Regions from separate parts of the Homo sapiens genome. Here region 1 is linked to region 2. The links are contacts of gene promoters, found by promoter capture Hi-C in blood cells and fetal thymus (Javierre and others, 2016). All regions are on one chromosome and are shown on one strand. Each heading gives the region's core, a stretch centred on a gene start or on the middle of the fragment in contact. The rest is flanking DNA. Distances are from core to core; before and after follow the strand shown. Region 1 overlaps SKAP1 (src kinase associated phosphoprotein 1). Region 2 holds the start of PRAC1 (PRAC1 small nuclear protein).

Region 1 (5,935 bases), core at 344-2,843, 430 kb after region 2:
TTCTGCGAAAACCCTGAATTGAATAGCTGTGGGTTTCACAAATTACATGCATGTAAACAACATACCTTTGAAAGGAGGATGTGTGGACCCTTTCTCCTATATGCTTATGTCTCTGTTGTCGTAGATTGGCGTCCTTTGTGAGCTATTCAGTGACATTTCAGAACCATTTTGCTCTGCAGAAAACCCGCAGTTGTGTTTCTTTAGCTGACACTGTGGCACTTGCACTCGAAATTGCTAGTTAGAAAAAAAAATTGTTGAGGCCGGTGGCTGTAATCAGCGTTGTTGCTGTCTGTTTCCTCAGACTAATAGCAGAGAGATCCGAGTCTGAGAGTTCAAACAGAGGTTATCTTTCCCAGGTAGCATCTCGTCCAACGAGAATTTGATTTTTTTCTATAGGACTTTACTCCATTAGATTAATGAAATTTCAATGAGAGCCTGGCGCCCCCTGAAGCTTTGTTAAGAAAACAAATGGTGATTCTGTAGGTGTGACAGCTTGCTTGGAGAGTTACCAGAAGGTGAATACATCCCCACAATCCAGGCAGCCTGGAACACATTGATCTCTATTTAAAGCACCAATCGGATTTTTGTTAATTATAAATGATTGATCTGCAGTTTTTTCCTCTCTCTCCTCTTATATGTGTGGTTCCCCCTCCTTCCCGCACTTCTAACTTCTTTGCATGCTGAGCGCAGAGCTTTTTGTTTAAAGGAACAATCATAGAGAGCAAATTATAGCAATACCCGGCAGCAATGCTGCTGTGAATGTCAATGTCAGAGCGTTCACTGTTCATCCGACAAAGGTGAGCCCTGAAGTAGATTTCAGTCTGACTCCATGTTCCCTCTTTACTTAGCTTATTCCTAAAATAAGGGATGATTTTAACAAAAAGAAAAGCATAGAATCACTAGAATAGTATTATAGATGCTATCATTATTACGTTTTAAAAGCTGACTTGTAAGCCTTGTACACCAATTCCACAGTGCTAACTCAGAACCTCGTATGTACCAGGATATGATGTGTGATCAAGCAAGCCCGTGTGGGACAACTAGGGAAATATCTAAGGGATATCCAAGGAATATCTTAAGTAAACTAAGGGAATATCTCTGACCTTAAATCTCAATTTATAGGCATTTAGGTGATTAATACACCTTTTATCATCTCTGTGGAGTAGTTTTAAAATAATGTTTAGAAGGCTTACTGAATTCAAAAACAGACACATGTATTATTCCTGATAATTGCTCACCACACATAGTTCTGAAGACCACAGAAGAACATTCCAAGCTTCTTTGTGGATCTATTTTAGTGAAAGTATCTGAGCTTTAAATGTATTTATTTATTGAATATAAAAGTACGTAATTCCTTCTAGTTATTTATAACATATACAATACATAAAGAAGTTAATTTATGCAGCTCTTGGAAAACATATTTGTAAAAATTACAGCTTAAGGATTACAGATATTAATATATTATATTGAAAACTACATAGATTTCACAATCTAACTCAAATGTAGATTTTTTATGAATGTGTCTTTCTTAAGTTTGAGCCTTTAATTAAGTTTTACGACGTATATTTTCAAGTTAGAAAAATGAACTTGCCCCAGTGTGCTTTTTTAAAAATTGTCTAAATAATCCACAAGAGATTGTTCTAGACCAAGAATCTTACAGTAGTTTATAGTTTGCAGTGACAATCCTCTTCAAAATCCTTTAGATTTGAAAAATTGTTACCTCATTTATTTGTTCTGAAACTTTGCTTAACTTCCTTATGAGTTGCAGTATCAGTAATTGTGTATGATAAATTCAACAGCATAAGAGTAATTCTGCCTTTAAAGCAGCAGCATGAAATGGTCAAGACCTGCAGTATAACTTACCATATCTCCCCATGCCCAAAATTCAGTGACTTTCTGAAGAAGCTTGCTATTGCTTTATGAACAGGTTCAAAGTCTATAATACTCATCCAAATATGAGAGGTGTTCTGACAGAACTTCCCCATAAGGTAATTATTTAATAATCTTGTAAATACTGTTGGGAAGACTAGATTTAAAGTATAATTTTGTGATGTAGTATTTTTTCTTGGTATCTTAAAATATGTATTTTTTCTTTTTATTGTTGCTTATTGTGTTTATCTCATTTTAAATTAGCAAAACTCATGAAGGCATATTTATAAATAGTTGTAACTATGACTTTTAAAATCAGATTTTGAATCAGCCAGAAAAAAAGCGATGTGTTTTTGTTTTTTTGGTTTTTTTTACAAATGTTAGCACATCAGAATAGTTGTTAACATCAATGACTAAACGATTGACCAATGACAACATTAAGAAATGAGTGATCATGACAAATTCACCAAGTTACTTTCATGAAATGCTTCCAGAGGGCTGATTTTAAAATGTTTTAATTTTATCCCTGTTGGAAGTTTTCTTTTTTCTTTTCTTTCTTTCTTTCTTTTTTTTTTTTTTGAATAGGCTAAACTAATGATTTTCATTAGTGTATTTGTGATTTATGTGATTTTAGTAGGTTATACCAAGGTTAAATAATTTAAAGAAATAAACCCTTATCTGATATAAGATAGCTAATGAAGTATATTAGATACTTGCCCTATTGCTATATGAAGTGGATCTCCAAAGCTAACAACAGCTTTCTGCAGGAACACAAATCTCTATATAAATATCCAAATGTAGCAAGATGTTGCAAATTTTTAAAGATATGCCATAAAAATAGATTAACGCTAGTATGCAGTCCTGTTCAACTGAATTACAAAGGGATATCATGGGATTGCCAGTGACATTCACATAAATAAAAAATCAATTCTTAATGATGAGGCAGACTTGTTTTAGCGCATTACCCAGGTTAAATGAGAGCGCACAAAGACATCAACTCCTATAAGACTAGCGGAATCATTGTATATTAATATGATTTAGGGAGCTACACACCTCAATGGAATAATTGTTATTATATCTATAGAGCCAGATGGCACTTGGTGTAAACAGCCATTGAGCACCTCAAACACAAGTGTGGCAGGTGATCTTTAAGATGTTCTTGCATCCTGCTCACTCATCTTATCATTGGAATCTGCGTTACTGTTTGCAGAATGATTTGATTGCCAGTACGCAAATTTTTCAGAATGGTGCTGTTGTTCAATAGGAACCTAAGAATATAGAATGTCCTCAGCAAGAGAATAGATGAAGCAGAATAGATGAGGCAGCTGTCTGGATTTGTGTGGGTTAGCACTGAATTTTTTACAAGAAAGAGAACAGAGAGAGTAATTTTTTTTTCCAGCACCAGTGGCCCCAAAATTCAGAAATTTTAAAAATTAACTCTCAAATTTTCAGTGAAGTGGGCTTTAGTAATTACTATTTTCAAAGTAACCCCATGAAGGTGGTCAACAGGTATAAAAATTTGTGCTTGCAAAGTTAGAGAAATGCAAGTTCTGAGCAAAAGTTTATGATTTTGTTTTTGTTTTTGTTTTTGTTTAAGACAGGGTCTACTCTGTCACCCAGGCTGGAGTGCAGTGGTGCCATCATAACTCATTGCAGCCTCAAACCCCTCCTGCCTCAGCCTCCTGAGTAGCTGGGATTACAGGCGCATGCCACCACAGCCAGCTAATTTTTTGTCTTTTGAAACATTCTCACCATGTTGCCCAGGCTGGTCTCAAACTCCTGGCCTCAAGCGACCCTCCTGCCTTTGCCTCCCAAAGTGTTGAGATTACAGGTGTGAGTCACCACACCAGGTCAGAAGTGTCTTTAATTTTTTGTAAAATATTTTTCTTTTCTTTGAATATTTAAAATTGACTTCTGCTAACCCTAATTATCCAGTTACAGAAATCTCATTCATTTATTCAACAGATATTTACTGGGCACCTACTATGTGCCAGGTACTGTTCTAGGCACTGGAGATATGTCAGTGGAAAACCCTGCCTTCACATAGTTTGCATTCCTCAGGGGGCAATAAATGAAATGACATGATGTAATGTAAACTATGTGAGAAATAAAATAGGGAAGAGAGACAAAGTGTGCTAAGGTACAGTGTAAAGCTTAAGATTTGCCTTTCCTTCCTCAAGAACATAAAACAGATTATCCGGGAAGAATAAAAGAGGCTGGGGAAGTTCTTGTTTATCTTCTGACTTAATCGATCTTGTGAAATTCTAGTGCATTGTCTGATAACCCACCTGCTGTTATAGCCTCAGCTCAGCAGCCAGGGTTAAATAGTTGGAATGAGTGTTCAGTGTAAGCTTAGATTATTGGCTTGAATTAAATTTAATAATGTTACATAATTTTTTAATGGTTTTGTTTCTTTCCTCTGATAATAACATTAAAAAACATACCATCTTTAGTTACAAATAATTCTTGAATTGCCCCTTTCTCTACCTTGTAACCCATGTTTAGTTTCTAATCATCAAGGACATGAAACTGGCCTCATAGACGAATTGTTATCATAGTAGATTTAGTGGACTTTGATATCCAAACATATGAAACAGATTTTTCAAGTATCTAAAATAGAGAATGTGCCTCAAAATTTTGAGATCTTATAAATCCATCTGTCCCTTAATAATAAAATTCATACTAATTCTGAGAATATTTCCATCACCCACTTCAGGGTACTATTGACTGCTTAACTCCTGGATTTTAAACTAATGTTCAGTTCTTCAGCAGATGTAGTTTATTATATAACTGCAGCCACTCTTTAGGTGAAACATGGTACATGTTCTGAAATACTCCTTTAGTTTAGATGAAAAAATAAAATTCATTTTGTAATATGACGTAGTCTTCATTCAGGCTTACTTTTGATTAAATATTAATTTTTAAATATATATATATACTTATTGGTGCATAGATAAAAATACTGAAAGGATGTGTTCTAAAGTGTTAATAATGACTACAGATTACAACATAATAGGGCTAATATTTCTTTTTTCCTTGTACTTTTCTGTATTTTCATTTTTTTCTGTAATGAACTTGCATTCTTTTTGTAATCAAGAAAAAACACTCAGTATTATTTTATGAAAGCTAACAGAGCCTAAAAATTTATACTTCTGTTTAACACAACACCTCACAGCTGGCAAGTGAATGCAGATCAGTTTTTCAAATATCAGAAAGTAGTAGAAATCAGCAAACATTAATATTTAAATAATGCTGTGAAATTACTAATTTTACCTATTTCTATTTATTGTAGTTAAACAGTACAGTGCAAAATTTGATCAGTTTATCCCTTCTTTTATTTCCAAGATATCAAATTTTTTTTTAAAAAGTAGGCAGGAATTTTTTTAATGACATGCCAAATATACCAAATTTCATAAGGAAACATGTTTTTAATTTCAGGCCTTTGAATATGATATTACTCATAAGCATGAGTATTTATGAATATATAGGAAAAAGAGTCTTGAAAACTTTATTTCTTTTAGCAGTCAACAATATTTAGCCTATCAGAATGCTTGAATAGATAAACATTCCTACTGTTTTAATTTTGAATATAGATTGTCTTGTGCTGATGGGAAGTATTGTTAATTTTAATAAAATTAACTTTATATTGTTATTTCACCACTTTATAATAATTTTACATGGTGCCCTGGGGATGCCTCTGTTTTACATTATCAGGTGTCACATTTGCCATTTGGTTGGCATAGCAGCGTTCAGCTTCACTTCTCTGTTCAATTGCCTGAAGCCACACTATTCATGTTATATTACAAGTAGCTATTTTGCTATACACTGCACAAGTTTATATACTTTTATTTTATATGTATATATCATTCTTGTATTTTCTCAAAATCACTGTTTTGTGCTATTTCCCAGCATTTCTCTTGCTTGCCTTTAGGTAGACACGGTTATGATAACAAGTTGGCTAAGATTCCTAGCAGTCTGCCTCCAGTACTAAAATGTTTAAATTTCTTTTCTTTGCTTTGGTTTTTTTTGAGATGGTCTCACTTTGTCGCCCAGGCTGGAGTGCAGT
Region 2 (4,576 bases), core at 30-2,529:
TAGTGGCGCAATGCGTAGAAACTACCTCCGGAAGCTCTTTTTGAATCTCGGTTCCAGCACCCGCAACGCAGAGCGCGAACCTGAGGCTCCATCTTTCGGGTTTTACTCCGGCTGGCTAGCGCTTCCGGGAACCCTGCGAGGCCGCCGCCAGCCGAGAATCCGCCCCGCCTTCCCTGCAGGCGATCCCTACTCCAAATAGTAGTTCCCGGGCCGGAAGCTGGAAAGCCCTCGAAGCAGGAAAAAGCCTCATCCAGGCCCCCCAGTTCTCGGGAGCAGCTCCAGCTTTCCTTCCCCAACCTAGAGCAAACTTCTCTTCCCTGCAGCTCCCCTCCCCCCCTTCATTAAAGTTATATTGAAGGTGCTAAGTGCTGCACTCTAATTGGGTTTCCTTCAGGGGAGACCCTGTGCCCCCCGGCCCCAACCCGTCCTGTCTAATAGAAATCCCCGAGCTGCAACCGCGAATTAAATAGATGAACTCGTTACCGTAAACTTGCAATAAAGCCCGGAGGCGACTGCTGCGGAGGGGGCAAAAGAAGGTTTCGTTGTTTTTGAAATTTATACCATTCTCACCCTCCCGAACAGTCGCTCTCCAGGGAAGAGGGGAGAAAGCTCGGGAGCGGCCCCGGGCCTCTAGCCCAAAAGCAGGACACCCCGCCCCTCCCCCCAGGCACTGGCCTGGGCCTGAGACAGATTTAAAACATCCAATGAGGAACCGATGCCAGCCTTTCTTCCTCTCTCCCTACCAGTTAGTTCTGTGTAGAGGGGATGAGGGGGAGGGGACGAAGTGGTCGGGGGAGAGTGAGGGAAAGAATTCCACCATTACCTTCTCTCCTCCCCTAAACTGCCCCCGAACTGGGAGGTGCACAGGGGGCAGCAAAAGAGTTTAATCGCCCCTAGAATAATGCTGGCGCCCAGCCTGGGGGGAGGGTCAGGGACTTTGCCATTGAACTTGAAGTTCCAGGCTGGTGGTCTCCACCGCCCCCGCCCCCATTTTCCTAAAAGTTTTATGGGAAGAGGGAGGAAGGTGAGGGGAAGAGAGGACTTCTCTGGCCTTGGGAAAGAGGGAGGAAGCCAATCAGGGGAGGAAGGGCCACAGCAACCAGGAGGTCCAGGGAGATTCGGAGGTTTGCGGGGAGGCGAGGAGGCTGCTGGGAGGAGACACTCCAGCTTTCGCCCCTACTTGCAGCTATGAGGTGGGGAGCCACCAACCGCAGGCCTTCTTACTGAGCCCCGCCCCAGACTCTACAGGGAGAGGGGCACCCAGTGCTGTGCTCCCGTCCTTCCTCTCCTAGCCTAAGGCGTGCAAACAGAGCGCCACTGGGAGGCTGAAACCTTTAGGCCGATGCTTGCTTGCAAGGTCAGGCAAGCTGGATTCTGGTCCCCACCTTTGCAGAGAGAACAGCGATGTTGTGCGCCCATTTCTCAGATCAAGGACCGGCCCATCTTACTACCTCCAAGAGTGCTTTTCTCTCTAATAAGGTAAACTGATCGGTGGGCCAAGGGCGTTATCGACGGATCGCTCAGTATGGTAGCTGCATCAGGAGGCCCTGGGAGAGGGTCTCCCAGGAATTTGGGAGCCTTCAGAAGTTTTGGGAAACAAGGGAAGGGTGAGCAGCAGGCTTTCACCGATACCACCTGGCGGGAGCACCTACTCGCGGTTCCTGGAGAGACCGGCAGCCGCCCTGGGCAGAAAGGGACAAAGAAAATGTTTCGCAGCACGCGGGACCTGCAGGACCTAGGCGGGGGAGAGGCTTGGGAGTGGGAACTAGCACCCGCTGTAAGGTCTGCCATAAGACTTAATGTTTGTCTCCAATGGGATGGAGTCCTGGCATAAGCAAAATTAATATTGATAACGTTATTATTATTTAAAATTTGTAAATATTGTAAAATATTTTAGAAAACATCTACTTTGAAACATCTACTGGGCGAGACCAGGAGTGATGGCTCAGCCTGTAATTCTGGAATTTCGGGAGGCCGAGGCAGGAAGATTCCTTGAGCACAGGAGTTCCAGACCAGCCTGGGCAATGTAGCAAGACGCTGTCTCTATTTATACAATAAAATTTTTTTAAAAAAGGAAACTGGGTGAAAGTTAACTGTGATTATAACAATTTTTCTTTTTTAAACTAACTCATCCTTAAGGCAAAAGCTCTGGGCCTTAAAAAAATAAAAACGGGCCAGGCATAGTGGCTCATGGCTGTAATCCCAGCACTTTGGGAGGCTGAAGTGGGCAGATAACTTGAGGCCAAGAGTTTGAGATCAGCCTGGCCAACATAGTGAAAACTGTCTCTACTAAAAATACAACAATTAGCTGGGCATGGTGGCTCACACCTGTAATTCCAGCTACTCAAGAGGCTGAAGCACAAGAATTGCTCGAACCTGGGAGGTGGAGGTTGCAGTGAGCTGAGATTATGCCATTGCACTCCAGCCTATGTGACAGAGTGAGACTCTGTGACAAATAATAATAATAATAATAATTGCACCTTTTTCTCTGGGCCCCTGGCTTCCTTATTCCCTTTCCTGCACCCTCTCAGAAGCTCTGCCTTGCCAAGTGTGGGATCAATGCCACAGCAGGCATGTGTGCGCACAGGGGCTCTGGGTCCAGTACAGAAGCAGGCTGGGGACCACATGCTCACATCTTCAGCCAACCACTGATATTGCCAAGTCATTGGTCTTGGGGTGGGCACAGTAATCCACAAAAACACTCAGGACTCACCTAACTCTCTTCTCCCCACAGCTGGCTCCTTCCCTGCCAGTTCCCCCTCCCATAATGACAAAACCCACAATTGAGTGAGCACTTTATAACCTAAAGAAATTGAAACTAAGAGGGTAAGTTACTTGATCTGGGTCCCAAAACAGGAGCGCTTAACCTCTACCACCAACTGAAAAAATAGAAAGCCCAGGGACTCCTCTATTGTCAACATACCTCTCCCTGCAAGGCCCTTCAGACACTAACAAGCACCTGCTTCCATCCGGAGTCACCCAGCTGAGATCACACAGGTGCACCCAAACACCCTAGACCCAGCCCCTCCTCAGGCACTGGACAGATCTGCATATATGCAAACAGGGGATTAAACACGTGTGGACATTTTTGTCAACCAACTACTCATTAATTGAGTATGCAAAATCTTCCACTAGGGGTGGAAGACAGGAGGAAAGAGTTGGAAATATGCTCTCCCTTCCCACCAGGCCTGACTCCTATGCTGGTAAATCTTGGGTCTGCAGCTTCCCCATATGTGACCTGAGGCCAGAGGATTTTATTCCATGACCAAATGACTACAATCAGAACAAATGGGGAACAGGACGGGGAACAGGGAAAGAGAAAGATACACACACACACAGACAAGCAAGGCTTCTGGGAGTCTTCCCTGGAGAAGATGCTTGGAATATCAAATCCGGGAGGGAAGATGTGAACAAAACTCGGAGGAGGCCAGAAAATGCAGGTCGCGGTGGATAGAAGGACGGTGCGGATCCTTACTCCGGGTGAGCTAGAGCTGGCCAGGCAGAGAGCAGGGGCATCTCACAGGGTCCTGGACCCCCAGGCGAAGCCTGGGCAGTAATCAGACGTCCCCTTGCCCACTCAGAGGCTGATCGCCTTACCCTCATCCAGGCGGGCACACACCCGCACTACTCGCCAAACTCCGCAGACCCCAGGCTGAGGGCAGAGAGGCAGCTCTTGGTCTGCGGGGTCCGTACCCATCCTGTGGGCCCTCAGCTCCCCATCTCTAGGTGGGCCCAGCCCGTCGCCCCCGCCCGAGACCTGCGTCCAGCCTTTGTCATGTTGATGGCTGAAGCTCGCCGCACCTCCCATTCCAGGCAGGTTTTTGTCATTGAACTTGAGTCAGGCTATAAACATTCCTTCACCCCTCCGGAGCCAGGCCGAGACGCGGAGGGGTGGAGGGGAAGGGCGGAGGGGGCTGTGGAGCGACCCGAAACGCGAGAAACCGGGCCTCGCGCGGCTTTATCAAAGAGCTTCCAATCCTTGCCTTCCGGGGAACACCCGCCGGGCCTGCAGCTAAAAGCCGGATTCTTGAGGCCATCCGGCAAGTCAGGCCAATGTTTTGGTCGGGATCGACATGGTGTAACTTTTTCTGTTTTCCTCCTTGGCATTTCATGTTCGTTTACCTTATTCTAGGCAGTCTAATCCTTAATTTATTTTAATAATCAGGATAAACAGATGCGTACACAAACGAATACTAGCTAAGGCCGATGATTTATTAGAGAATGTTCGAGTCGGTCGTAACGAGGCCGTCGCCGCTCGGTTTTACAAGCGCCCCTCCCTCGGCGGGGTTATCCGGGGGGCTGTCGCCCGCCGCGCTATCCGATCCCTGGCTGCTACCAGGGCGGCTGCCGAGCCCCGCGGGTTTCCCAGCTGCCTTCCCAGGACCTGGAAACTTAAACTTCGCAAATGGGGCGTCTCCCTACTCGGTGGCGGAGGAAATAGCGGCCTGGAGAGCCATCCGACCCGGGAAACCGGCGCGTCTTTCCAGGCGACCCGCCGACTGCGGAGGCTGCGAGGAGCGGCCTGCTCAGACGGTAGTAGTGCTGCGTGTGCGTGTGTGTGTGTGTGTGTGTGTGT

What was found. Contacts are between HindIII fragments. The CHiCAGO score rates a contact against its expected background, and 5 or more counts as called.
Region 1: a fragment that was not itself captured here is called in contact with the fragment with the promoter of PRAC1 in region 2 in 1 of 17 cell types (M2 macrophages); the score reaches 5.3 in M2 macrophages.

The regions. Positions count from the first base shown.
Region 1 is chr17:48,288,646-48,294,580 of GRCh38, reverse strand. The region is part of intron 4 of SKAP1 (src kinase associated phosphoprotein 1); the gene reads left to right. It overlaps SKAP1-AS2 (SKAP1 antisense RNA 2), which reads right to left and starts at 234. Exons shown (of 2, transcript NR_131240.1): 1 at 66-234. The HindIII fragment of the contact is 629 bases long and covers 1,279-1,907 here.
Region 2 is chr17:48,719,221-48,723,796 of GRCh38, reverse strand. PRAC1 (PRAC1 small nuclear protein) reads left to right here and starts at 1,279. Exons shown (of 2, transcript NM_032391.3): 1 at 1,279-1,479; 2 at 1,898-2,078. The coding sequence starts at 1,405. The coding sequence ends at 1,996. PRAC2 (PRAC2 small nuclear protein) reads right to left here and starts at 612. Exons shown (of 2, transcript NM_001282275.2): 1 at 484-612. RefSeq lists enhancers at 303-818, 819-1,333. The HindIII fragment of the contact is 8,116 bases long and covers 1-4,576 here.